7 separate regions of the Homo sapiens genome follow, and regions 1, 2, 3, 4, 6 and 7 are each linked to region 5. Evidence: promoter capture Hi-C in 16 types of primary human blood cells and fetal thymus (Javierre and others, 2016). All regions are on one chromosome and are shown on one strand. Each heading gives the region's core, a stretch centred on a gene start or on the middle of the fragment in contact. The rest is flanking DNA. Distances are from core to core; before and after follow the strand shown. Region 1 overlaps GOLGB1 (golgin B1). Region 2 overlaps SEC22A (SEC22 homolog A, vesicle trafficking protein). Region 3 holds the start of PDIA5 (protein disulfide isomerase family A member 5). Region 4 overlaps IQCB1 (IQ motif containing B1). Region 5 holds the start of WDR5B (WD repeat domain 5B). Region 6 overlaps IQCB1 (IQ motif containing B1). Region 7 has its middle 3.9 kb from the start of SEMA5B.

What was found. The method cuts DNA at HindIII sites, captures the fragments that hold promoters and counts their contacts. A CHiCAGO score of 5 or more calls a contact.
Region 1: a fragment that was not itself captured here is called in contact with the fragment with the promoter of WDR5B in region 5 in 1 of 17 cell types (neutrophils); the score reaches 5.3 in neutrophils.
Region 2: a fragment that was not itself captured here is called in contact with the fragment with the promoter of WDR5B in region 5 in 4 of 17 cell types (naive CD4 T cells, fetal thymus, total CD4 T cells and 1 more); the score reaches 7.6 in naive CD4 T cells.
Region 3: the fragment with the promoter of PDIA5 here is called in contact with the fragment with the promoter of WDR5B in region 5 in 1 of 17 cell types (erythroblasts); the score reaches 5.4 in erythroblasts.
Region 4: a fragment that was not itself captured here is called in contact with the fragment with the promoter of WDR5B in region 5 in 1 of 17 cell types (naive B cells); the score reaches 5.9 in naive B cells.
Region 6: a fragment that was not itself captured here is called in contact with the fragment with the promoter of WDR5B in region 5 in 2 of 17 cell types (total B cells and naive B cells); the score reaches 6.0 in total B cells.
Region 7: a fragment that was not itself captured here is called in contact with the fragment with the promoter of WDR5B in region 5 in 1 of 17 cell types (total B cells); the score reaches 5.4 in total B cells.

What each region holds. Positions count from the first base shown.
Region 1 is chr3:121,713,903-121,717,061 of GRCh38, reverse strand. It overlaps GOLGB1 (golgin B1), which reads left to right. Exons shown (of 22, transcript NM_001366282.2): 9 at 1-325; 10 at 2,086-2,201. Among named protein-coding and RNA genes, the nearest start is that of GOLGB1, 34 kb to the left of the region's middle. The HindIII fragment of the contact is 3,286 bases long and covers 267-3,159 here.
Region 2 is chr3:123,207,289-123,210,593 of GRCh38, reverse strand. SEC22A (SEC22 homolog A, vesicle trafficking protein) reads right to left here. Exons shown (of 7, transcript NM_012430.5): 2 at 1,195-1,395. The coding sequence starts at 1,376. Among named protein-coding and RNA genes, the nearest start is that of SEC22A, 7.0 kb to the right of the region's middle. The HindIII fragment of the contact is 3,274 bases long and covers 26-3,299 here.
Region 3 is chr3:123,065,312-123,068,303 of GRCh38, reverse strand. It overlaps PDIA5 (protein disulfide isomerase family A member 5), which reads right to left and starts at 1,279. Exons shown (of 17, transcript NM_006810.4): 1 at 1,098-1,279. The coding sequence starts at 1,139. RefSeq lists a silencer at 985-1,224. The HindIII fragment of the contact is 10,820 bases long and covers 1-2,992 here.
Region 4 is chr3:121,793,244-121,796,494 of GRCh38, reverse strand. IQCB1 (IQ motif containing B1) reads left to right here. Exons shown (of 15, transcript NM_001023570.4): 10 at 929-1,038. Among named protein-coding and RNA genes, the nearest start is that of IQCB1, 40 kb to the left of the region's middle. RefSeq lists an enhancer at 1,489-1,538. The HindIII fragment of the contact is 655 bases long and covers 1,003-1,657 here.
Region 5 is chr3:122,414,629-122,417,567 of GRCh38, reverse strand. It overlaps WDR5B (WD repeat domain 5B), which reads left to right and starts at 1,506. Exons shown (of 1, transcript NM_019069.4): 1 at 1,506-2,939. The coding sequence starts at 2,040. WDR5B-DT (WDR5B divergent transcript) reads right to left here and starts at 1,362. Exons shown (of 3, transcript NR_125405.1): 1 at 1,318-1,362. RefSeq lists enhancers at 1-708, 812-1,011, 1,172-1,221, 1,252-1,491, 709-1,526 and 1 more. The HindIII fragment of the contact is 1,055 bases long and covers 858-1,912 here.
Region 6 is chr3:121,809,472-121,812,709 of GRCh38, reverse strand. All of the region lies in intron 5 of IQCB1 (IQ motif containing B1), which reads left to right. Among named protein-coding and RNA genes, the nearest start is that of IQCB1, 24 kb to the left of the region's middle. The HindIII fragment of the contact is 1,387 bases long and covers 649-2,035 here.
Region 7 is chr3:123,030,152-123,033,221 of GRCh38, reverse strand. No RefSeq gene overlaps it. Among named protein-coding and RNA genes, the nearest start is that of SEMA5B, 3.9 kb to the right of the region's middle. The HindIII fragment of the contact is 211 bases long and covers 1,443-1,653 here.

The DNA.
Region 1 (3,159 bases), core at 660-3,159, 700 kb after region 5:
TCCAAGATTCTACTGGAAAAGATGGAACTTGAAGTGGCAGAGAGAAAATTATCCTTCCATAATCTGCAGGAAGAAATGCATCATCTTTTAGAACAGTTTGAGCAAGCAGGCCAAGCCCAGGCTGAACTAGAGTCTCGGTATAGTGCTTTGGAGCAGAAGCACAAAGCAGAAATGGAAGAGAAGACCTCTCATATTTTGAGTCTTCAAAAGACTGGACAAGAGCTGCAGTCTGCCTGTGATGCTCTAAAGGATCAAAATTCAAAGCTTCTCCAAGATAAGAATGAGCAAGCAGTTCAGTCAGCCCAGACCATTCAGCAACTGGAAGGTCAGTAGCTGATTGCTTTTGAAGTCCACATCTCTACCATCTGAGTGGCTTGTATTTCATATTTTCAGGGATCTGTTAATGAAATCTGTACTCAAACCAATTGAACCAATAGAAGGACTGAGAAAAACAGCTCTTCTGAACTTCTTGATGCATTTTTCTTGCCTCTGACTGGCTATAATCTTTCTTAATATTATAATTATCATTACAATACTAAAAATGTGATAGTGATGTTCCAGATATTAAATAGAATGCTATGTTAAATATGACTGATCTGAAGGATTCAATGACTGAAACGAGAAGGATTTGAATTAGTTTTTGGAAAACTCAGGCCAGATCTAGGTGCATAGGTTAGGAGACTAAATTGCATGGAGTTATCCATAAATCTGAAGAAGGATGGATCTCAGTGCTTTTCTTATAGGTGAAAATCTCTTTTCACCTGATTTCTTGTCTTACAGGTGAAAATTTATCCTTTATGAAGGTATAAAGGAAACTTTTAAAAAATGTGTTATTATAAAAGTAATATGTGCCTATAAAAAATTGAACATTTTAGAACTTTATAAATTAAAAAGTGAAACTTCCTCAACACCAATACTCCATCTCACCAATCCTCTTCCCCAAATTATAACCTTTACTAATATATTGACATAGACATAAAGGAAAGATTTTAGAAACAATTAAGTTGAAAATTTGTATTGAATAACTGAATGTTAGCCAGACAGTTTTGTTTTTTGTTTTTTTTTTTTTGTGACAGAGTTTCACTCTTGTTGCCCAGGATGGAGTGCAATGGCATGATCTCGGCTCACTGCAACCTCTGCCTCCTGGGTTCAAGTGATTCTCCTGCCTCAGCCTCCCAAGTAGCTTGGATTACAGGCATGCACCACCACACCTGGCTAATTTTGTATTTTTAGTAGAGACAGGGCTTCTCCGTGTTGGTCAGGCTGGTCTCGAACTCCTGACCTCAGGTGATCTGCCCGCCTCGGCATCCCAAAGTGCTGGGATTACAGGCGTGAGCCATTGTGCCCTAGCCAGACAGTTTTGAAGGGCATCACACAAGACCAGGGTGTTACATGAGCAAGCTGTTCTCTTAAGCATGCTGATGTTTAAAACCATGTGGTGGAATCTTGGTGGGATCCATAATACCTAAGTCGAGAGTGAAGAAAACAAAAACCCTAAAGCCATTTTCAAGGGGGAAAGGGAAAATGAACTTGTAAAAAATGCCTAGGGCTAGGCCTCCCCACGCCTGCTATTCCAGCACTTTGGGGAGGTCAAGGTGGGGGGGATTACCTGAGGTCAGGAGTTCGAGACCAGCCTGGCCAACATGGTGAAACTCCATCTCTACTAAAGATACAAAAAAAAAAAAAAAAAAATTAGCCAGGCATGGTGACGCATGCCTGTAATCCTGGCTACTTGGAAGGCTGAGGCAAGAGAATCCTTGAACCCATGAGTCAGAGGTTACAGTGAGCCGAGATCGCACCACTGCACTCCAGCTTAGGCAACAGAGGGAGACTCCGTATCAAAAAAAAAAAAAAAAAGTGCCTAGGCCTATTTTATTTTACTTTTGAAGGAAGTGATTTACTGAGGTGTCCTTTGGTTCTTGAGAACATTTAACATTTAGCTAATAATAATGTTGTCATTGGCATCATAATTTTAACTAAGGAAACTAAACTAGTAAACAGCATACAGTGTATCTTTAGAAGATAATAATAACTACATTTCAGACTTGAAGCAAATATTACATTTATTTTTTTTCTTTTCCTTAGATCAGCTCCAGCAAAAATCCAAAGAAATTAGCCAATTTCTAAATAGACTGCCCTTGCAACAACATGAAACAGCATCTCAGACTTCTTTCCCAGATGTTTATAATGAGGGCACACAGGTAATTAAATGTGAACTTCTTATGAATATTAACTGTTTGTCTTTGCTGTATCTGTACTTCGGTGCTCTAATGAGGATTTATTCCAGAGAGCTATATAAACCTTCTGTTTTTTCTGCCTGAAAAAATACTTTTTTGAGGACAATTCTATTTGAAAGGAATCATGAAAGGCATTAATGCAGTGTTTCAACAATAAAGAATGAGAAAATAATAGATAACAAATACCATGGTCTCAGAAGCCTTTCTGATTCTAAGGTCTTAACAATTTGTATCGGAGATGAATCATTACTTTTGCTTCTGTAGTTAATTTTCCCAGTTCGGAAGTCTTTTTTTTTTTTGGTAAACTAAGATTTGATCAGGTTTAGTGAACACGAGTCAGTCTAATCAAACTTAAAAGTCTACTATGGAAATCATATTGTTCCCATTAATTAATTAACAGTAAAAAAGTATATAATGGCCAAGTAGCTTCTTATTGGCCAGTATATTCTTTCTTTCATCTACAAAAATCTCTGTAGAGAGCTAGATTGTAATCATCGAAGGCTGATTCAGGCTGATTGAGCCTGAATATCAGAATGAAGGCAGTTAGTTTGATGTTCTTAATTGACTAATGTCAAGTTGAGATAACTAGATTCAGTCATCTCCATTGTAAGATTATACCCTTCCAAACTCACAAACATATTGGTCAGCAGAGTCCTGTCATTCCTGGGCTATGCTGTCCACTGATAAAAATTTTTGCCTCTTGGTTTCTAGCATCTAGGCTTTCCAGTCTCTTCTGTTCTCCCATTCTCGACTTTTTCCTCCAATGTTTTGTTAAGACGTTTTCCAACCATTCGAATAAGTTGCAAGAGTTTTGTAGCGAACATCTGTATACCCACCATCTGAATTCTATCATTAACATTTTAGCACGTTTGCTTTATCAAATGTCTATCTATTTATTCATCCCTCTGCCCATCCATCAGTT
Region 2 (3,305 bases), core at 413-2,912, 790 kb before region 5:
CTATACTTGTCCTCTTCACTAAGCTTCAGACTCATATATCCAGCTGCTTACCTAGCAGTGCCCCTTGGATGTCTAATGGGCATCTCAGATTTAACATGTCCAAACAGAACTCTTACTTTTTACCAAGGAGACGCACTTATCCTCTCCTTTCTTGCTCATTTCAGCTACATTATTCATCCAGTTCCTCAGGCCAAAAAACTACAGGTGATTATTCTTCTTTTACCTTCACATCCTATTTCAATCCAGTAGGAAGATTTGCTGGTATTAATCCCAAAATATAGCCCCAATCTAACTACTTCTATTCATTACTACCCTAGCTCGTTACAATCAGCACCTCCACCTGAACTTCTCTGAGTCTTCCATCTGACCTCTCTGCTTCCACTTCCTCCTTTATTCTTCACAGTGCAGGCAGAATGATCTACTCTAAGCCAAATGAAATCATGTAACTCTATAGCTTAAAACTACCCAATGGCTTCCTACTGCATTAGACTAAACAGACTAATAGACTCCAAACTCACTACATAACTTGCCCCATTCCTACCTTTCTGGCCTCACTTTCTGCAACTCTATTAATTGTCCATAATTCTTCAGGATCACTGGTTTTCTTTCTGTCTCTTGGCATGTAAAAAAGGGCTTCTCCACTGGCTGCTACCTCTGCCTTGCTCTTCATCCACAGCATCCTTCATATAATTACCTCCTCTCTCATCTTTTAGGTCTCTGCTCAAATGTCACCCTCTCAGAGAGTGTCTTGACCACAATAAATAGTCACTCTCTATCCCATTGCCCAGTTTTACTTGATTTGTATGTGACTCAGTGATAAGTGCTACCCCCTCCCACTAGACGTAAGTTGCTTCAGTTCTTTGAGGGCAGATATCAGGTAAAAAATTTTTATTTCCAATTATAGTTTGCTTACTACAACCCTAGGTATGTAAGAATGCAAATAAATATTTAGTGATCAACTTAAAAGAGGGATATCTATGATCTGCACAACTATAAAATTTCCCAGAGCCAGATACAAAGAAACTACAAAAAGGCTGCTGCTGACATGATGACTATTTAGTATAAGTTCAGAACAATATGATGCTCGACTTGAACAGGTTTTCCTAATCACTCCTTTCTATTGCAACCACTTAAACTTCATTAAAATGACAACTACTGGGCAAATGAGTCAAATGAAGCAAACTGAAGTCTTACTTAATGTTATAATGTCCAGTTTTCAGTGTACATCTATCAGGAAGTTGAGCAAGTTTCCTCGAAAGCATTTTAAAATACTTTCTGCACTCCTGCATTCCTGTGCTTTGTTCATAATCAGTAGAAGCAGAAAGTGGCAGTCCATCTCTGACACGAATGACTGAGGCAGATAAAATCATAGACATTTCAACCAACAGAGAAGACCTAAAACAAAATGAACAATTTGGGTTACATAAAAATTAAAGCCAAACTTGATAAGCATATGTAAAAATGTTCAACTTACTAGTAATATAAGAATAGTAATTAAAATGGCCAGGTGTGGTGGCTCACACCTGTAATCCCAGCACTTTGGGTGGCTGAGGAGGGTGGATCACAAGATCAGGAGTTTGAGACCAGCCTGGCCAACATGATGAAACCCCTTCTCTACTAAAAATACAAAAATTAGCCAGGCGTGGTGGTGCACACCTGTAATCCCAGCTACTCAGGAGGCCGAGGCAGGAGAATTGCTTGAACCCGGGAGGCAGAGGTTGCAGTGAGCCGAAATCGCGTCACTGAGCTCCAGCCTGGGCGACAGAGTGAGACTCCGTCTCAGGAGGAAAAAAAAAACAAAAAACTAATTAAAACAACATACTATGCTTCACTTAACATATAGCTTTTGTTTTTTGTTTTTTGTTTTTTTTTTTGAGACAGCATCTTGCTCTGTCACCCAGGCTGGAGTGCAGTGGCGCCATCTTGGCTGACTGCAACATCCCCCATCCAGGGTTCAAGCAATTCTCATGCCTCAGCCTGGGTTCCCATGCCACAGCATAGGATGTGGCTGGGACTATAGGCGCCTGCCACAGTGCTGGGATTACAGGCATGAGCCACCACACCCAGCCACATTAGCTTTTTAAAAAATAATACTTCTGTCTGGCATTCTCATAAGTACAGATGGAAGTAAAAACTGGTACAAACAGTTCTCAAAATGATTTGGCAATTTCAACAAGAGTCTGAAGGCATACCTTTTAACCTCAATAAATTTAAATATATACCTGTCTTGAGAAAAATAATCAGAAATCCAGGCAAAATTTTAAACAGAAAGACATTCTTCCACTCAAATAACTGAAAGCAATCTAAATATCCTATAAAATGGTGATGGTTAAGTAAATTATAGTATATTCATATAACAGAATATAATGCAGCAACTAAAAGTTATGTTTGTGGAGAAAGTTTAATAATGTGGTAAAATGCTTACATGTTAAGGAGAAAAAAGTAGGATAAAAATTGCAAATGTTGTTTTACACAAACATAAGGATAAAGAGACGAAGATAAAGAGAAGGAAAAAGGGATTGAAAAACGGATGCAGAAAAAGATGCCAAATTAAGAATATGCTCACCTCTAAGAAATGGTATTATTGGTTATTATTATTTTATAATTTCCTAAATGTTCTCAATATTCACAGTAGACATATACTACTTTTATAATCAGAAAAAAATTATTTAAAATAAATCCTAAAGCTAAAGGAATATTGGTTTTAATGTTGTTCTCAATCTTTTTACCAGAAAGTAAATCTTAATGGCCTATTTTATTGGATTCTCTTCTTGCTTTACAAAAACAGATGAAAGGACTTCACAGGCCTGAGTCTGAAGGAACTCAGGTCAACAGTCACTCAACCTTTCATAAAATACACAGTGGCTCTCAAACTTTAGCTTGCATAAGAAGTTGAAAGTTTAGTTAAAAATGCAGATTTCTGAGCTCTGCCCTCAAAATTCTGAACCACTGACTGTGGGATAGGGCTTGACAATTTGCTTATTGTCTAAGGCCCATACTTTTTAAAACATTAAATTAAAACATGTTCACTATCTAAGATTAAGTGATAACTCTTCTCTGTCAGGCCATCAAAGCACAATGTCACTAAAGGCTTCCTCACTAGTGGTGAGGCAACTGGTGAAAATTCAAAAATCTGATAAAAATCTCACAGGCATTTTTCCAAAAATATTGTATCTTAGAGACTAAATTAATCCTTACCTGCCCACTTAATCTAGGTCAATATTATCTCATTCCAAAAAGGAAAAAATGAGTAATATATATAAAAAAAAATACCACAGAAAACCAGTTGTTACAAAGCTTGTAAA
Region 3 (2,992 bases), core at 30-2,529, 650 kb before region 5:
TTCAAGCAACTCAACCCACACTTTTCTCCTCCCATTTGCCCAGTGTCCTTGCCACACCCAAATGGAAAAGAACGGGAAAATCTGGGTTGGGGGGAGGGTGCCAGGAACAGGAAGTTCCCTGGAACTTCAGGGGAAAAGGACCAGGATGGTCCTAAAATAAGGGAGCGCATAAGTTATGGAAAAGATGGGGAAGGAGGCCACAATATCTCATCACACACCCACAGCGAAACGAAGGCCAAACCCCAGACCTGGGCCGGCAGGCACACCCATTCCGACCTCTCTCAGGGATGCCTGGAGTCCCCCCCACCAAGTGTAGCAAACTACTCTTGGAGTCCACTCCTTTTCCACTTTTGTAAGATTTTGCAGTTTACACAGCTTCCTCCACTGAGACCTCATCCGACTCTCAGAACCACCCTATGGGGGTAGCTTTGCCTTTCTATATCATGCATGAGGAAACTAGCTCAGATACATTAAATGAACCGCCGCGTCACACAGCTAGAAAGTGGCTGAGGCTCGAGCCCGCCTCAGTTGGGTGTAGGAGCAGCTCCTCCGCCGGGGCGGGCTACGTCGACCCCACCCAGCCCACCGAGCCTGGCCTGTGGGCGGAGGCCCAGGTGGTGGCCCGCAGTTTCCCAGACGCCTGGGGCCGAAGCCAAGAACAAGGTGGCCCTAAACCAAGGTTTCCGGCAGTGCAGGTAGTAAGCACCCCCATCCCACCCCGCACTCACACAGGTGCAGGGCTCGGAGTCTGGAGCGGAGCTCACCCCGCAGCCCGCCGGCGTCCTGCCCGACCGGCTGTGCCCCGACCTGCATCCCCGCAAAGTTGTGGCCGTGGCGTAAGCACCCTGCCAGGGATCTCCCGGCGCCCCACAGCTGCCTCCTGCCCCTGCGTCCGGGAGCGCTTGGCGGCGAGGGCACCGGGACGCCCGCTGTCTCCCGCGTAGCACCCAGTGCCCGCCTGCCTGGCATGCACGCCCTCATCCCGGTGCCCCGGGGCAGCTCCCCGCACGTTCCGCAGAGGGCTGGAGCAGAGAGCGCAGAAGGGCACGCGGGACACACGTGCTGGCCCGGCCCGGATCCCTGCCCCACAGTCTCACCCAGATTGCCAGCAGCAGCCACGCCGGCCCGGCCCGCGCCATCCCAGCAGCGCTGCCCACCGCTGGCTCCTTTCTCCACTCCGGCGCCCGCTCCCGCCCGCCCGCCTGCTAGCTCCACCGCGGCCAACCACCACGGCCACTTCCCAGCCGCTCCCCGCCTCCGAGTTCCCGGTGCCACGTCTGCCAAAGCATGCGCAGCAGCTGGGGAGAGGCGGCCGGGAAGAAGTGCTCGCTGGGAGTTGTAGTCTGCAGCCTGGCTCAGCTGGGGGCTGCGGGTGCGGACTGGGCTCCGAGGCCACGTGGCAGCGAGTGAAGTGCGAAAAGGCAAGGTCAGGGAGTAAGGGAAGGCAATTAATGAGCGGGGGCTTACTCTGTGCCTGGAGCTTCAGAAACAGTATCTCACGCAGCTCACAGAAATTAGGTTTTATTTTCTCCACTTTGAGGATTAGGAGGCAGCGCAGGGAATTTAAGTACGTTGATCCAGATCACACAGCCGGTAAATGGCAGAGTCCAGGGCTGCCTGTGAAGGACAGGAAAAGCCCTCATCCCTGCCTCCCAGACTCCCTCCTGCTTATTCTATTTAACTTCAGTAAAACATTATTGAGCTGTTGGAAAACAATCTGGTGGTTCCTCAAAAAGTTAAACATAGATTACTATATGACCAGCAATTCCACCCTTAGGCTAATACCCAAAAGAATTGAAAACAGGTATTCAGACAAATGCACGTACACCAGTGTTCACAGCAACACTATTTACAATAACCAAAAGGTAGAAACAACTCTAACGTCTGTCAAAGGATGAATGGGTAAACAAAGTGTGATACATCCATCTAATGGAATGTTATTTAGCCATTAAAAGGAATAAAGTGGCCCAGCAGGGCAGCTCATGACTGTAATCCCAACACTTTGGAAAGCTGAGGCAGCAGAATCGTGTAAGACTAGGAGTTTGAAACCAGCCTGGGCAACATAGCAAGACCTCATCTCTGCTAAAAATAAAAATAAAATAAAATAAAATAGCTGGTGTGGTGGCAAGGGACTGTAGTTCCAACTACTTGGGAGGCTAAGGCGGGAGGATTGCTTGAACCTGGGATATGGAGACTGCAGTGAGCCAAGATCATGCCACTGCACCCCAGCCTAGGCCACAGGGTGAGACCCTGTCTCAAAAAAAAAAAAAAAAAAAAAGGTGGGGGGGAGAGAATAAAATGCTAATACATTCTACAATGAATGAATCTCAGAAATGTATGCTAATGAAAGAAGCCAGACACAAAAAGTCACATATGATGTGATTACATCTTATGAAATATTTAGAATAGGTAAATCCACAGAGACAGAAAGCATAGTAGTGGGGGTGGGGAGGAAGGAATGGGGAATGACTGCTTAATGAGTATAGGGACTCCTTTGGGAGTGATAAAACATTTTGGAACTAGATGGAGATGATGGTTCCACAACATTGTGAAGGTACTAAATGCCACTAAACTGTACACTTTAAAATGGTTAATTGATGTTATGTGAATTTTACCTGAGTAAAAATTTTCAAAAGAAAAAAACTCTTTATTGAACCCATTCCCTGTGCTAAAGCAGGGGTCCCCAAACGCTGGGCCTCTGGACAGTCTGTGGCCTGTTAGGAACCAGGAGGCAAGCTGTGGGCCAGCGAGCATTACCACCTGAGCTCTGCCTCCTGTCAGATCAGTGGTGGCATTAGATTCTCATAGGAGTGTGAACTCTATTGTGAACTGCACATTCAAGAAATCTAGGTTGTGGGTGCCTTATGAGAATCTAATGCCTGATGATCCGAGATAGAACAGTTTCATCCCAAAACCATCCCCTGTCCCCCCACCATCTGTGGAAAACTTGTCTTCCACAAAACCGGTCCCTGGTGACAAAAAGGTTGGGCCC
Region 4 (3,251 bases), core at 81-2,580, 620 kb after region 5:
TACTCAAAATGATGGCTCTAAATAGCCCATTCAACAGGAAGAGGCATATTGCTTTCTGATTTCCAGATAAAGACTTAAATATGGAAAACATCTAAAATGACTAAAGATATTTTTTAATTTAAAAGGAAAAGGGGACATTGTATATCCAAAATCCAAAACCAAAAAGACAATAAATTTAAAAATACAAGCAGAAACCATGAAAATAAGTCCAGTAAGGCAGGAGAATGGGTTGGGGGAGGCTGGAAGGAAGAGTGCAGAAGAAGGGAATTCCTTTTTTCTGTATATATGAACCATCGTGAGTTTAGATTAATCTCAAAACTATGCATATGCTCAAATTCATATTGATTAGGTAACAAAATCATAAAACTATATTTTATTATTAATAGTTGTACCCTTTGCCATTCCATTTGAGGACTCAGAAGTCTATTAAGTAAACAGGAGACTGGGACAGAATTCAGTCAAGAACTCAGACAGCTCACTGACCTTTTAAGCCCAATGGTCTATCAGGAGAATAGCATATCAAAAGCTTACAGAACTAAACAGAGATTCGAGCAACCATCCACAATGGTCAACAGAGCTTATAGTTTGAACCTAACTAGGTTGATTGCCTATTAAGTAAAAACATTAACATGTTAGCTCAAAAAAGATTATGAAAGGTCAGGCGGACTATGAAATCTTTGAAAAGGAAATGGAAGTGAGATTATTCTGGGAGAATTTGGAGCTAACTAGACTATATCTTGAGTATGTTCTAGAAATTGCCTTACCAAGCCTAACATACCTCCTTTGGGAGGTAAGGTTTAATATTCTTACCCATCTTGTTAGAGCTAGAGATTAATATTTGCCCTAACCTGATACTTTAAGAGGTAAACTTTTTTTTTTTTTTAAAGACCTTCCTAGAGATATCTCTAAATTATTTTCGGCATTTCAGAAACTACATCAAGCAGCATGCTTGATTCAAGCCTATTGGAAGGGTTTTCAGACAAGAAAGAGATTAAAGAAGCTTCCATCTGCTGTGATTGCTTTGCAGAGGAGTTTCAGGTAAAAAAATTTGGTGAGGGGATTGATGATCATAGAATCTTACTAGAGTACAGTTGAATTGAAATTTAGGTGATTTTTTTTTAATTTCCTAGTATGTTTCTTGTTATCTTTTCATTTTTTTTCCATACGTTTCTGGGTACCAACACTCCAGTAACCAGATGCACTTTCAAAGCAAAGGATGTAAGACAGGAATCTGATGTGTCAAATATGCAATCCTATCCACTTAATAAGATATTTGGGGAGGGGCCAAGCCTACAAAGGGAGCCAATGATAGTTATATTATTAAACCCTCTAAACCAACAGTTATCATAATTTCGTGTGTATAATTATAACAATAACATGTATGCGTATAAGAGTTTAAGTCTGTTAACCTGATTTTCCTGAATAAATATGGCATGGATGGATATCTTCATTGAATTATGATATAGTTCGGCATTTATTTCAAGTAGACTGAAAAGGAAATACTGAAGACATAGCCCACTTTCTGCAATGACTTAACCAATCCAGATCCTCCAAGGTCACAGAACAAGAAAAAATAACTTAGCTTCTAGGTAATTTATGGTAAAGAAGATCTGTTTCAGAGGTGACTTTTTCATGCAGCCTAACTTAAAGCCAAGCTTTAGTTTGCTAAAATGAAACTGGCATTTTACAGAAGTTAATTCTTTAAAGAAAACTGAAACTATTCTTTTAATAACTGCAGATGCATTTCTCAGTTATAAAAACATTTAAAAATAGCTCTGGGGTTCAAAATACTATGTAGTCACAGAGTTGAAGACATTGAAATCACTCTAGCTAACTGTGTCTCTTAGTGGGTATCCTATTAATTGATGAACGTTTTCTTCAGGGAAGAATTAAAGATGGATTTTAAATATTATTGGGCATGAATATTGTTGGTAGCAAAGAAAAGAATTAATTTTTAAATATATATCAAATGCCTAGTATATGATATATGTACTAGGCATTTAACAGATTCGAGTTTGTATCTCACTTGAGCAGCTTACTGGTTGAGTGAACTTGGACAATCCCCCACCTCTCTCAGCCTCAAACTTCCAATCTATAAAATGAGAATAATAGTTTATACACTTGTATGATCAAGATAATGTAAAATTTGAGATAATACAAAGTTTTTAGCATATTATCTGGCACTTAAAAAATGATAGAAGGAAAAATGCATATGGCACATTTTCTGTCCTTGAAAATTTACAAATCTAGGTAAACAAATAGATGCATTAAATAGGTAGTACTAATGAGAAGCAAGTATTATCCATCTATTATTACTCAAAGTTTATTGCCTATCTTACAAGCTGTTTTTTTTTTAAAAGCATTTCTGTGGTTAGATAAATTTGGGAAATATTGAGTACTTTTTGAGTCACAGTGTATATTTTTCTACCCAAAGCATCTGAGGTGCTCTTGGTATTGCCTCTGTGGTGAATTCAGATAGAGTAGGTATTACTTATGGATTCCACCTGCTATCATCCTTAGTTACCTGTCATCTTAAATTTAAGGGTACCCTTATACATGGATTCAGAGCATTAATGTTTAGTCCCACAAGAGTTCCCAAATTTGCTCATATACTCTCTCTTTCAATATTAAAATCTCTATTTAAAAGTAGCCCAGGATTACAGATTTTTTTCTACTTAGAAGTGTATCTATGGAATCTAATATTCCATTATTTTAAAATAGAAATTCCATTGCTTTCTTTATGTAACCAGAAGAGTTATAAATACTTCCATTAAAAAGATAAGCTGTGAAGCAAAAATTATTTAAGTCTCACATTTTGTGTTTGTTGCCTTTCCAGTATTTTTGCATTTGAGGTTCCAGAATATACTGAAATGCGGTTCTAACCTGTTGGATTCTATTTAATTTTTTAATTTTCAGTTTTCTCCAGTTCAGCACCTTCGCTCTTCTATTAGTTGTAACAGTTCATGCAAATGTCTCTTGCTTCCTTTGTAGCTTGGTTTTTTTTCAAAGGTTATTTCTGTCTTTTTGTGCTCAGGACTTATCTCAGTAATTTCCCCTTCCCATGGTTTTGGGAGAGAGACTGCCCACTGGTCACACTTATGGGTCCAGGTTGATTAGTGTTCTTTAGATTCAGCAAGAGGCATTCTTTTATAGTCACGCCCTTGCTAATGCACTTTCATAGTGGTTTCTTTTTTATTTAGTCATTTCTCGTATTCAGAAACTTTGTCTCTTAAGTACTCTTATTCAGCAAG
Region 5 (2,939 bases), core at 257-2,756:
CCTAACGGTGCCTGTTGTGCCTTATAAAGGCCAAGACTTTCAATTATCCCTAATAAGTATACAATAGGATACCCATTGTTTCCAAGTGCTTTTAAATTCTTGACGCTGATGAGACATTTGCATCGTGACCAGCCACCAGTAAAATCTTTTAAGCCACGTTTTTTCTGCTTTTCTTGGGCACTCTTTTTTTTTTTTTTTTTGAGACGGAGTCTCACTGTTGCCCAGGCTGGAGTGCACTGGTGGAATCTCAGCTTACTGCACCCTCCACCTCCTGGTTCATGCCATTCTCCCACCTCAGCCTCCTGAGTAGCTGGGACTACAGGCGTGCGCCATCACGCGCAGCTAATTTTTGTATTTTTAGCAGTATTGGTTGCGCCATGTTGGTCAGGCTGGTCTCGGACACCCGACCTAAAGTGTCCCGCCCGACTGGGCCTCCCAAAGTGCTGGGATTACAGGCGTGAGTGCTCGGCCTCGGGCACTCTTTACTGAGCAACAACAGGTTGGAGAAACTAGTAGGGCTTCCAGTTTTTTGGTAAACCTATTGTTTAAAAGTCTGCCTGGTCATCAGATTCCAGTCGTCTTGTTTCTGCCTCAGATGATAAAACTCTAAAATTATAGGATGTGAGATCTGGAAAATGTTTGAAAACACTAAAGGGGCACAGTAATTATGTCTTTCGTTGCAACTTCAATAGCATGTATATTTTACACACTTTCATGACCATTAATCATCTCCTAAAACTGGGGAAAGCTCTCTAAAACCTCCTTAAGAGTAACCTTATCCGTTACCCTATTCCACCAACCTCTTTGTCCTTTTCTGTTTCAAGCAACTTTGAGATACCGACTTCTCTATGGAAGCTTAAGCCGTAGATGCTAAAACAAACGTTTGCTCGTTACTCCCAGCAGAGCACCGGCTTTTAAAGGACCTCAACAGACACGTTTCTTAACCTTTACGAAACTTTTCCAGGGGAAACTTAAACCAGGAATTTTACAATCTGGCATAAATTCTGTCACCCGCCCCGTGACTCCATCGCCACACATGCCACCTGGCTCCACACCACAACAAACAGGAGGGAGCGGAACCCATGCAAAGCAGGAGCTTCCCCCGTTTCCGGCGTCTGGGTGGATCTACGTTAGCTGCCGTTTAGGCAGCTTACGCGTCAGGTGTGGGCCTAAGCCTGCAGCTAAGGTAGGCATCCGCAAATCTAGTCCTTCTCTGTGACAATTTCCAAAAAGAAATGGTTTTTGAAACAACGATCCACTGCTTCCCACACTATCCAGTTAGGTCCGGGACAGACCCTACCCAGCTAATGCACTCACCCAAGAAGGCAGTCGCTTTCGCATTTGAAGGGCGGGGCGAAAAAGACCGGAAATGAACATTGGCGACTTTTTTGCGCAGGCGCAGATGGCCGTCTCCCATTGGTCATCTCGGCTCGGTAGTGGTAGGAGGGACTTCCTTTGCACATGCGCCAGGCTGCTTTTCCGGCTTTGTTGGAGATTGACGCGGCAGTGCACACCTGCTGGTACGAGCAAAAGTAGCCGACAGGCCAGAGTTTCCAGTTTCGGTGGCTTCGTAGGCTTTTAGCTTCTGAAATCCGCTAAAAGCGGCGGTTCATTCATCTTCAAGTACCTAGCCTGACTGGTAGGGCTGCTCAGCATTCCGAAACATTTCGACCTGGGGAGGGGGGCGGCGGTGAAAGAATACTTTCTGTAGAGAGTGCCCCTCGCGTCGCCCCTGCTTTGAAGGCTTTATGTATTAACGGAATGCCGAACATTTGTGTCCTACTTGCTGACAGCGCACAGGATCCTTCTAACAGTATTTCTCAAGTACTTAACAAAAAGATGAAAACTTGAAGTCCAAGCCGTGCTGCTGATTCCGTCTCACAGTTTAAAGACTGTCCAGAAACTTTAAGCTTTCAAAACTGTACATTTTAAAATCCTGTGCGTTTATCTTCATTTTGCTGGGCAGAAAGCCAAAGTACTGGACTGCCTGGTTCAGGGCTGAACGCCTAGTACACCTGCTAACTTGGAGCTTCAGAGCCATGGCAACCAAGGAGTCAAGAGACGCCAAAGCACAGTTGGCCCTCTCCTCATCGGCCAATCAGAGCAAGGAAGTGCCTGAAAACCCAAACTATGCTCTCAAATGTACTCTTGTGGGACACACGGAAGCAGTGTCATCAGTTAAGTTTAGTCCTAATGGAGAATGGCTAGCAAGTTCTTCTGCTGATAGGCTAATCATAATTTGGGGAGCATATGATGGAAAATATGAGAAAACACTCTATGGTCATAATTTGGAAATATCGGATGTTGCCTGGTCATCAGATTCCAGTCGTCTTGTTTCTGCCTCAGATGATAAAACTCTAAAATTATGGGATGTGAGATCTGGAAAATGTTTGAAAACACTGAAGGGGCACAGTAATTATGTCTTTTGTTGTAACTTCAATCCGCCATCCAACCTTATAATCTCGGGATCTTTTGATGAGACTGTAAAAATATGGGAGGTGAAAACAGGAAAGTGTCTCAAGACTTTGTCTGCTCATTCTGACCCAGTTTCTGCTGTTCATTTTAATTGTAGTGGGTCCTTGATAGTGTCAGGTAGCTATGATGGCCTCTGTAGAATCTGGGATGCTGCATCAGGTCAGTGTTTAAAAACGCTCGTTGATGACGATAACCCTCCTGTCTCTTTTGTAAAATTTTCTCCAAATGGTAAATACATTCTCACTGCAACTTTGGACAACACTCTTAAACTATGGGATTATAGCAGAGGCAGGTGCCTGAAAACATACACTGGTCATAAGAATGAGAAATATTGCATATTTGCCAATTTTTCAGTTACTGGTGGAAAGTGGATTGTGTCTGGTTCCGAGGATAACCTGGTTTACATTTGGAACCTTCAGACTAAAGAGATTGTGCAGAAATTACAAGGCCATACAGATGTTGTG
Region 6 (3,238 bases), core at 93-2,592, 600 kb after region 5:
GTCTTCACACTTTATTTCATTAAGTTGATCTTCATTCTCTTATATCCTTCCTTCTGCTAGATCAATTTGGCTATTGATACTTGTGTATGCTTCATGAAGTTCTCATGCTGTGTTTTTCAGCTCCATCAGGTCATTTATGTTCTCCTAAACTGGTTATTCTAGTTAGCAATTTGTCTAACCTTTTTTCAATGTTCTTAGCTTCCTTACACTGGGTTAGAACATGCTCCTTCAGCTCAGAGGAGTTTGTTATTACCCACCTTCCGAAGCCTACTTTTGTTAATTATCAAACTCATTCTCAGTCCAGTTTTTGCCCTTGCTGGGGAGGAATCGCGATCATTTGGTGGAGAAGAGGCGTTCTGGTTTTTGGAATGTTCAGCCTTTTTGTGCTGGTTTTTCCTCATCTTCATGGATTTGTCTACCTTTGATCTTCGATGCTGATGACCTTTGGATGGGGATTTTGTGTGGGTGTCCTTTTTGTTGATGTTGATGTTATTGCTTTCTGTTTGTTAGTTTTCCTTCTAACAGGTCCCTCTTCTGCAGGTCTGCTGGAGTTTGCTGGAGGTCCACTCCAGACCCTGTTTGCCTGGGTATCAGCAGCAGAGGCTGTAGAACAGCAAATATTACTCACACCTCCTTCCTCTGGAAGCTTCGTCTCAGAGTGGCACCTGCCTGATTCCTGCCAGAGCTCTCCTGTTTGGAGGTGTCTCCCAGTCTGGAGGCACAGGGTCAGGGACCCACTTGAGGAGGCATTCTGTTCCTTAGCAGAGCTCTAGCACTAACAAATTCAAATTCAGTATATCAACTGTGCTGGGAGATGCGCCGCTCTCTTCAGCGCTGGCAGGCAGGAACATTTAAGTCTGCTGAAACTGCACCCACAGTCTCCCCTGTCCCCAGGTGCGCTGTCCCAGGGAGATGGGAGTTTTATGTATAAGCCTCTTACTGGGGCTGCTGCCTTTGTTTCAGAGATGACTTGCCCAGTGAGGAGGAATCTAGAGAGGCAGTCTGGCCACAGCTGCCTTGCTGTGCTGCAGTGAGTTCCACCCAGTCCAAACTTCCCAGTGGCTTCCTTAACACTGTGAGGGGAAAACTGCCGACTCAAGCCTCAGTAATGGTGGATGCCCTTCCCACCACCAAGCTCAGTTGTCCCAGGTTGGTCGACTTCAGACTGTTGTGCTGGGAGCGAGAATTTCAAGGCAATGGTTCTTAGCTTGCTGGTCTCCGTGGGAGTGGGACCCGCTGAACAAGACCTCTTGGCTCCTTGGTTTCAGACCCCTTTCCAGGGGAGTGAACAGTCTGTCTTGCTGGGGTTTTAGCCACCACTGAGGTACAAAAAGAAACTCGTGCAGCTAGCTCAGTGTCTGCCCAAACAGCTGACCAGTTTTGTGCTTGAAACCCAGGGCCCTGGTGGTTTAGGCACACAGGGAATCTCCTGGTCTGTGGGTTGCAAAAACCATGGGAAAAACGTAGTATCTGGGCCAGATAGCACAGTCCCTCCCTTCCCTTGGCTAGGGGAGGGAGGTCCCCAGCCCCTTGCACTTCCCAGGTGAGGCAATGCCCCACTCTGCTTCTGCTTGCCATCTGTGGGCTGCGCCCATTGTCTAACCAGTCCCAATGAGATGAACTGGGTACCTCAGTTGGAAATGCAGAATCACTGCCTTCTGCATTGCTATTGCTGAGAGCTTCAGACCAGAGCTGTTCCTCTTCAACCATCTTGCCAGATCCCCCTGGCAGAGAATTTAACTCAGTGGTAGAGCATATGTGTTCCATGTAACAGGTTACAAATTCCATTTCTGATATCTCCACTGGCATTTTGTGGGATGTTAGCACTAAATAAATATTTGCTAGATTTAGTTTAATTCAGGTTAGTTGAAGCCACATAAACTATAGGAATTGTGTTGGATTTGATTTCTTTTGCTGGCTGTGCCACAAACTAACTCTAGGTTCTATAGCAAATCACTGGATTTCACTGTATCTCATTTTCCTCATTTGTAAAATAATTTCTGTCCCATTAATAGCTCAGACCATTATGTAAGCTTTATCTTTTCTTCAAAGCACCTTTATTTAATATTCCTATTTAAGAGCATTAATAATTCTTTTTCCTTATATATTATTAAAATTATGTATTAATATGTTATGTATTTGTATATTACTTTCATTATAAATATACTTATTCAGTTAATTATTTTCATTTATAGAATCCTTAATACTTTTCATAATATTTTTCTGTCCTTTATTATTGTATTTTTATTGAGATAAAGATTCTTTAATGTTATCCAAGAATTAATTGGCTACAGAAAAAGTAAGGCCACTTAACCACAGGGCAAAATTAAAACAGGGGCATAAAAAAGATGTGGCAAAAACTTGAATTAATTTATTAGTCTATTTACCTAGGAGCTTTTCAATCAGATTTTTGTTTTAATTAGATAGTACATAGTTAGTAGATCATATGGTGGGACATACACGTTCTGACCTAAAATACAAAGTGGTTTTGTGTGAGTATATGTGAGAATTTCGATTTAAAGGTAAATTTTGTTAACCTGCCTCAAGAACCATGAATTTGTGGGTGACATTATCTAATGTGCATTTTAAGGAAAGTAGGAAGTCTAAGAGTACAACACTATCTTTTGGGATTGACAACAATGAGAATTACCATGCCCTTTCTGATGTATCTTTAGGTAAAACTCTGGCAAAGGTAGCTTCCTGAACTAAAAGGATAAAAGGATTCTTGCTCTAATGTGACGTTTCTTATGGGTTTTTTTTTTTTCCATTGTTATATTCAAGTCAGCACTTGTCCTAGAATATTCCTAGGATATTAGGAAAAAAATACTTTCATTATTATAAAGAATAATCATGGCAATCATAATATTTTTGCGGGTCTCATCATTACTTTTGTGCTATAGTACAAACATTCAGGACATGGATAAGATTAGTGACCTTTATCCAACATTCCACTAAAGTTACATGGCCAATAAATGACAAAATTGTAAATGGAATCTATACTTCTTATTTCTCCTTGTGGCACTCTAATTTATAATAATTTCTCACCCTACTTTCCAGAAAGGAAGAGCCAGAAAAAACTGTCATTTATTTGTTGACTAAATGTTGATTGAACATTTACTATGTGTCAGAACTGTCCTAGAAACTGAGTTTGTATGGGGAGCTAAATGACACGATCTTTGCCCTCCTAAACTTATGAGTAGAAACTGGAACTGAAATACACTATTAATAATGCTTCTCA
Region 7 (3,070 bases), core at 299-2,798, 620 kb before region 5:
GAGAGGTGCTTATGAGTGCTCAGGAAGAGAGATGTGATTACCCCTGGGTGTCAGCCCGAGGCCAAGCTACAAAGCCTGCCTTCCCAATCTCTCACCACACCCTTGACTTAGGACTGTATGAAGAAAAACTAGAAATGTAACACAGGGAACAAAAATGGTTCCAGAAAAATTGCGTGTATGTGGGATTGATGAACACTTTTTGTGGGTTTCAGAGCTAATTCTCCCCTCTGTTGTGATTTGGAATGCTGCAGGTGGTTAACTGGGTTGAAAAACAATTAGCATGTTTTACTATAATATACATTTTCTATTAAAGAGTTTTTAAGTGCTAATATAAATATTAACTAATAAGCAATTGGAGAAAAAAATTTATATGGAAAAATCTCAGTTCAAGCCTAGCTCTGAAAATTACCAATTGCATCCCTGATTCCTATCTGTAAAATGAGGATAATAATCATTCATTTATTAAATCATTATTTTGTACCTTTAAAAGAAACCACCAAACAAACAAAAACCAAGCCCTGTTCTGTAAGCTGGGGCTATAGTGATGAACAAAGCAGGCAAGGCCTCTGCTCCTGTGGAATTTATATTCTGGTCAGGGGAGACAGACAATAAATATGTACAATGTCAGATGGTGATAATGACAAGTATTTGTCATTTTTGAAAAGATGGTAATACATCTCTGATGAATTGATATTTGAGCAGAGATTAAAGGAAGTGAGGAAATGACCTATGTGGACATTTGGCAAAAGAGCTTTCCAGGCAGAGAGAGCATCAAGTACAAAGGCCTTGAGGTGAGAGCCTTGGGTGTGTGAGGAATAGCAGAGAGGCTGGGGAAGCCTGAGAGAAGTGAGGATAGGGAGAGCGCTAGCAGATAATGTCAGACAGGCCTTGTGGGGCTGCTAAGGCTTTTTCTCTAGAGAGCTGGGGAGCCATAGAAGGTTTTTGAGCAGAGGAGTGATAGGATCTGAATTAGGACAGCTTCCGTGTGGAGAACAGACTGTAGGTACAAAGGTTAGAAATGGCAGAGCAAACATCCAGGGGAGAGAAGAGAGTGGTTTGAACTAGGGCACAAGTAGAAGAGGTGGGGAGAAATGGTAAGATTCTGAAAATATTTCAAAGATAGAGACGACAGGATTTATGGATGGTCTGAATGGAGGGTATGAAATGACTTCAAGCTTTTGACCTTGAGGAACTGGAAGAATGGAGTTTTTACTTACTAGGATGGGGAAGACTGAGGGAGGAGCTGGCTTGGAAAAACAAATCAGAAGTTAAGTGTTGGGTATGTTAAGATAGAGATGTCTCTTAGATGGTCATGCAGAGGAGGGGCAGGCAGTTGGTTCTATACATCCAGATTTTAAGAGAGAGCGAGAGGGCCGGAGCTGCAGATACAAACTTGGGCATCATCCGCACAGAGAGGTTTACAGCCAGTGACTGGACAAGCTTATCTAGGTCTTCAGTGTAGCTGTCTCCCTCACATGGCTGTGAAGGTCAAAGGGGATAGTATATGGCAAATAGTTTTGTAAACTGTAAAGTGCTATACACAAGGAAAGGAACAAGTGTGCAAATACGGTAAAGAGCATAATGTAGAGCAGGATTTAAAGAAGTATCTTCAGGTAGAGACAGAATCATAGAATACATGTGCAAGGAGAAGCTTACAAACCAGTGGATCAACCCCTTTCATTTTATCCAGGAGGAGCTAAGGTTGGAGAGATTAAGAGGCTTGTCCAAGGACACTCAGCTCATCAGTGGCCCAGCTCATCCTAGGACTGGGGAGCCCTAACTGCTGGTGCGGTGCTCTTTCCACCACATGAAACACCTGCTCACATTTACTGCTTCAGCTCTCTCTGAATCTGTTAACCAGGGGCAAGTAATTCTTCAAACAGAAATCTAATTATATCGCCTTGTGCTTTTATACATGCTACTTCCTCTGCCTGGAATACTCTGCCTCCTCCTGCTTCTCTGTCTGGCAAATTCCTGCCTTATCTTCCATTCTCAGCTAGAATGGCCATTTCCAATGAAGACTTCTTTGTCCTGTTTGGTAGGATGGTAACTGGCTCTCCATGTGCCCGCAGAGCTCCCATCCTGTGGCAGTCCTTGCATTTGCTATGATTACGTCTGCCTCCCCTGCCTGCCTGTGAAGCTCTTCCTATGACCTCTCTGCCTAGCTTAGTGAGTGACACTTAAATGGGAAGGAAGGAAGGAAGGAAGGAAGATCTCTTCTTTCACATTAGTTCAGGACAATGGCAAAGCAGTCATTCAGTGACACTTCAGTTCCTCTGACCTGAGCAAGGTTTTGGTTCACAAATTGACAATGACTTCTGGGGTGGGAATTTTCTTTTTTCTTTGCCATCCCCAGGCACAATGAGCAGGCAATTCTGGGAGCAGAAAACAATTTGGACATTATACGTGCTGTCTTTTTATTTTCAATTCTCTGTCTCCTATTAGTATATGACTGGCTGTTTGCCTTTTGCTGCAAGACAAGGTTTGTGTTTGTGCCTGGGCTATGCACAAGCATGTGTACACACACACACACACATAGAGGGGAGAGAGAGAGAGAGAGAGAGAGAGAGAGAGAGAGAGAGAGAGAGAGAGAGAGAGATGGCCTCTTGGGAGAGCCTGCACTCATTTTTTAGCTTTATCTCCCAGAAAATGCCCTCAGGTGGGAGGAAGAAGACAGTGTTGTGCTCCTAGCTTTTCCACCCTTTCCTGCTCTTGAGCATGAGAATTTGGATCTATTTCTTAAACTCTTTCAACCTTAGTTCAAGATAAGTTTGGAATTTCTAGGTCAAGAGTGAATCCTAAAAACTCCGTCACCCCCTATATTCACCGCTCTTTAGCTTGTTTGCTTGAGATAACACTGTGTTAATTACTATATTTCCATTCTGCTTAATTACAATGTTTCGGTAGAAGAAGAATTGCTCCTAACAGAAGCAATTATCTTATAGGTTATTGCAAAGGTCTAAGGAAGGTGGCAGAAGCTGGTTGTGATACTGTGGTGATGGAATCAATGCTCCAGGTTTTGTTCCAAGTAAATGATTCAGAGATTCTAACCAGGCTGGGTTTGCCAAAG